Linked DNA regions of Homo sapiens: region 2 is linked to region 1. The links are contacts of gene promoters, found by promoter capture Hi-C in blood cells and fetal thymus (Javierre and others, 2016). All regions are on one chromosome and are shown on one strand. Each heading gives the region's core, a stretch centred on a gene start or on the middle of the fragment in contact. The rest is flanking DNA. Distances are from core to core; before and after follow the strand shown. Region 1 holds the start of PDCD1LG2 (programmed cell death 1 ligand 2). Region 2 has its middle 46 kb from the start of JAK2.

Region 1 (2,612 bases), core at 34-2,533:
AGACACCCTGAAGCAGCAGACAACAAAGAGCCTGATGATGGGGAGACCTCAAATAATGAAGGCAAATAGATCAGGTTCCAGTGGCAAGAGCAGCAGGACCAGGATTGTTCATCCACTCACAGAATCTTAGGCTTGGAAAGGAGCTTGGAGGACATCCAGGCCAACTCCGTATTTGACCCTGATACAACTGTCTCATTACTGCTCACACTGAATATTTTTACTCTGCATTTTGTCAATTTAGGTCTCTCATTCCCTGCCCCTCAGAGCCATAGTATTTTTGGGTTAAAAGTCCTGATTAGTTGGTAATCTCACTCAGGCTTAGCCTCTCCACCTCCATCCCCTCCACATGAACCCATTGCCTTTGCTCTTCTACTCAGTGCATCCAGGCGGTGAGCAATCAATAGCAATTATTTCAGTTCTGTTTAATTTTTCTACCTTTTCGCTGATCATTTTATATGGAAAGAATAAGCCTTTCCATAGTCCCCAAATCATGCTTTTGTTCAATAATGATTACCTCTATAAGTTATTAAGATAATAGTTTTGGGTTTTTTGTTTTTGTTCCCCCTCCACCAACAGCTGCCTCTTAGGCATAGCTTGTAAACAAAGGCCAGCCTGGAGGGATCACCGTCTGCTAAATGGATAATCACAAACAGATGTCAGTCATAGGAAAACAGATTTTTAAGTTCTTCACCATTAAGCCTCCGAAAACTCTAAGCTGAGAGACAATCTTAAGAATAGTTATATTATTTTACAGTGCACATATTTGGTGCAGAAAATATCTCACCTTATAAAACTGAGCAACAAGAACAATATGCATAGGAACAAGTGAGAGAAATCTGGGGCAGGAGGACATTAGCTTATTTGTGCCCCTCAGCACAATTTCTGAGGCAGAATGTCTCTTGCCTCAAATGGTGTGGAGAGAAGGTAGGCCACCCTTCCCCCACCCTGGCAGCCTCATCATGGTCCACAACATAATAGTATGAGAGTATCTCAACCCACTCGTTACTCACATGAGGACTTGCCACAGCTCCACAAGTAAAGATGCAAAAGTAAACAACAAAAAACAGTTGCTGTTTGTGTTAGATTTCCTTATAGTAGCCACCAAAATGAACAGCCAAAAGGAAAAACAAAACAATCAACATGCAGTAGCTCCAACCCAGGATTCTTTCTAGCTGGGACATATGAGGATGGGTAACAAAAAAGCACTCAAAATTTGGCGTTAAGATATATTCAAGAGAAGAAAAGTTGTTCATTCAGCTTAAGGTTTGCCGTAACATGAGAGTGAGTCAAACCAGAACTAGTTCTGAGGAACTGACGAAAGCCTGGCTTATTTGGAAAGTTTTGGTTTTGCTTTTAGCAGTTTGTCTGTGAATGGGATTGCATTCCTGATTTGGCTCTTGGCTTAGCTATGGTTGGTGTTTAGGAATACTAGTGATTTTTGTATGTTCATGTGGGATCCTGAAACTTTCTGAAGTTTATCAGCTTAAGGAGCTTTTGGGCTGAGACTGTGGGATTTTCTAGATATAAAATTATGTCATCTGCAAACATGGGTAGTTTGACTTCCTCTCTTCCTTCTTGGATGCCTTTTCTTTCTTTCTCTTGCCTGATTGCTCTGGCCAGGACTTCCAATAGTATGGTGAATAGGAGTGGTGAGAGAAGGCAGCCTTGTCTTGTGCCGGTTTTCAAGGGGCATCCTTCCAGCTTTTGCCTATTCAGTGTGATGTTGGCTGTGGGTTCATCATAGATGGCTCTTATTATTTTGAGGTATGTTCCTTCAATACCTGGTTTGTTGAGAGTCTTTTTTTTAACATACCTTGAGAGTTTTTAATACCCTTTTATTCCCTCTCTTTCCCCTATTCTTATATGTGCTCCAGCTTCCCCATTGTCCCTGGAGCACATTTAGGAATAGGGGAAAGGGATGGAATGAAGAATACCAGCATGTCTTAGTGCTGTGCCAGGAAATTGACTCATTTCCTAGGGCTTCTGTAACACATGACCTCAAGTCCTTGGCATTCCCTGACTTATAGTTGTATCACTCCAATCTCTGCCTCCATCTTCAAATGACATTCTTTTCTGTGTGTATCTCTACATTCCTCTCCTCTTATGAGGATACCATCCGTTTGATTAGTGCCCACCCTAATGCAGTATGACCTCATTTAGACTACATCTGCGTAGACCCTACTTCCAAATATAGTCACATTCTGAGGTCCTCAGTAGACATGAATTTGGGGGGAACATTATTCAACTAACCTCACTTCATTTCATAGTGCCTCATTTCATTCTCAGTGCAATGTGTGGTTTAGAGTTAGACCCATTTTACACATGAGAAAACAGGACCAAGATCAAACAATGTTTCCTTAGTTGCATGGCTGAATTTGAACTCGGACCTCAGTGGCCCCACTATACCTTCAGGCTTGTGATTGGTGAGATTAAAACCACATGGCAAGAAAAGGCAAACTTGAATATAGGCCTGAATGATCAATCCTTCTCCTGCTGCCTCCCGCCCTTTTCCTTGTGCTTATAGGGGTAGGACCAGCAGAGATGTGGGGCTGAACACTCAGACAGAGGATGTTTTTAAGAAAACATCTCTCCTTGCCTGTCCTCTAAGCCTT
Region 2 (2,612 bases), core at 83-2,582, 570 kb after region 1:
CAAACAATTCAGTTATACAGTACAGCTCTTGATTAAATATAAAAACACTTCTCCCACCCTTTTTCTGTCATAATAATAATTTTGGTGCATTTCTTTGTATACATTGTTTTTTATATACTGCAAGAATTTTTCATGTGGCTAAAAACTACTGAGTCTCAATATTTTTCTGATTCGCTACCATTGACTTACCTAAGATATTTCCACTAGGACAATATAGATTACATATAATGTTTTTTTCATAATCGTTATTTGAAATGGCTGTATAATCTTCCATTGAGTGGATGCACCATAATCTAGTTAAACTATTTCCTGTTGTTAGATTTTAGGCTGTGACTAATTTTTCACTATTATGAATAATTTTCCTGTGAGAAGTGCAAACCGTAGGCATATTTTTTTAATCTCTGGATTATTTCCTTAGTACAAATACCCAGGAGATTCTACTAGGTGAAAGGATGAGAATATTTTAAAATCTCCTGATAGCCAGGTGCAGTGGCTTGCACCTGTCATTCTACTTACTTGGGAGACTGAAGCAAAAGGATCCCTTGAGCTCAGGAGTTCAAGAACAGCTTGGGCGACATAGCAAGACCCTGCCTCTAAAAATTACTAAATAAATAAAACTAAAAGATCTCAATACATATAGCTAAATCAATTTCTAAAAGACGTTTCTAATTCTACTGGTAATGTACTATAGTACTAACAAACATTAAATATTATTATAAATGTTGCTATGCTTTGTAGCCAAATGAATGGAAGGGGTATCTTATCACTTTTAAAATTAAAAGTGAGGTGGAACATTTTTCCATGTTTGTTAACTAGATGATCTCTTCTTCTCAATATCTATTTACTTTATTATACCACGAAGGACTTGAAGAGCTTTCAAGTAGTGTTTGTCAGTAAGAAAACATACTCTTTTTGTTTCTTTTTTATGTAGGTGTTTTGTGTGGGTCACTCCATGGATTCATAGGTGAATCTATTCCCTCAAAATGAATCTATTGGGAACATTCTTTAAAAAAAAACAAACAAACAAAAGTAACAGAGCAATAGCAAGATCTTTCTGAAAAAGAAATTGCTGGCACATTTTACCAGCATTTACCTTGATCCAAATCATTGAGTTTAGAGAGAGATCCAGTCAATTTAGCAAATCAGCCAAAAGCAACAGTATATGACAGATCAAATTCCATTGGAACAAATACCACACAGACTGGGCAATTCCAGGGGCAGATATAAGACAAATGAGGGGAAGTTGAAGGGAGATAAGATTGTTGGCTGATAGAAAGGAATTTCTAACAACTAACTCGAGCCCCAAATAGACAACAAAGGAGCAACAAAGATGCAAAGATGGTCAGGAGGAGTTTGGAGGATTCATGCAGGAGGGTGTGGGAGGCCTTGTGGTGAGTAGACTGGATAGGACCCCTAAAGTCCCTTCCAACTCTATTTTCCTTAGAGTGGCCCTTGGACCTGAACTTCCTGGTCCTGGGAATAGGAGATTGCTTTGTACAGGACAGAAAAAGAGGAAGAACCTGTCCCTCTCTTCTTGAGGGTGGGGCTGACCATAGTCAGAATTTTGAAATAGAGTTTATCTTTGGCATCTTCTCACTTCCCTTTCTGTACTTTTGCTTACCAGCTGCCCAGTATTCCGATGGGGGTGTTAGCCTCTAAGCAGTGCCACTCCTGCATTACTTCTTTCTCTTTAACCACTTCAAAACTCCCATTCTCTTAACACAGCTAACCTCAGCTAGCTGTTGAAAGGAAAGCAATCTGTTTGAACCATTTCACTCTAAAGCATGACCGACTGATAGTATCATGATCTTCCCAAACAGATACGAATTTTCAAAACAAGATGTTTCTAAAGCCAATGGCATCTTTAACAACATGTGGTAAATTAAACCCCACTTAATAACCCTTCTGAAGTTCAAGTTCCAGCTACATTAATTACTGTCCCTCAGTATTGAGGAAATTACTAGGCCATCCTGTGTTTCAATATTCTTATCAGAAAATGAGGAAGAAATACAACTAAACCATATAATTTATATAAGCTGCCTGGCATAATGCTTGACACATGGGTCTTATTGTTAGTTATTATTGTCCCCTTTGCAGTCATCCATGCAGAGGTGTAATCATGTATTTCTTACTCTCATAACGCATATTCCTTGGGCTGGGAGGTGAGTCTCCAAGTCAGAGTCTGGGCAGCTGACATCCTTGTTGTGTAAAAGGAGGATTTCCTCAAGTTCAGCAGCCTCTATTATCCTTTTCTATCACATTATTTCCTGCCATTACATTTTTTTCCATTCTCTTTACTTTGTGTTTTATTTGTTTGTTTGTTTGTTTGTTTGTTTGTTTGATGGTTGAATTAGGAAGTTAAATTTTGATTTGAAAGTTTGGTTAATTTATTCTCCATGTCTCTTCTTTTCTGATATGGACATTGAAAGCTATAGATTTCCCTCTGAACAACATGTTGACCATACCCCACAGATTTTGTAGAGTAATGCTTCTGTGCCCATTCATATTTATGTGATTTATAATTTCCATTTGATTTTGTCCTTAGCCCAAGAGTTATTTCATTATTGATTTGTAATTCATAAACAGTCTTATTATCTCTATATTCTTATAAT

What was found. Contacts are between HindIII fragments. The CHiCAGO score rates a contact against its expected background, and 5 or more counts as called.
Region 2: a fragment that was not itself captured here is called in contact with the fragment with the promoter of PDCD1LG2 in region 1 in 1 of 17 cell types (M0 macrophages); the score reaches 5.2 in M0 macrophages.

Annotation. Positions count from the first base shown.
Region 1 is chr9:5,509,202-5,511,813 of GRCh38, reverse strand. PDCD1LG2 (programmed cell death 1 ligand 2) reads right to left here and starts at 1,283. Exons shown (of 7, transcript NM_025239.4): 1 at 1,011-1,283. The region is part of intron 2 of INCR1 (interferon stimulated noncoding RNA 1); the gene reads left to right. RefSeq lists enhancers at 1,185-1,234, 1,395-1,454, 1,515-1,594, 1,536-2,612. The HindIII fragment of the contact is 25,064 bases long and covers 1-2,612 here.
Region 2 is chr9:4,938,255-4,940,866 of GRCh38, reverse strand. No RefSeq gene overlaps it. Among named protein-coding and RNA genes, the nearest start is that of JAK2, 46 kb to the left of the region's middle. The HindIII fragment of the contact is 6,163 bases long and covers 1-2,612 here.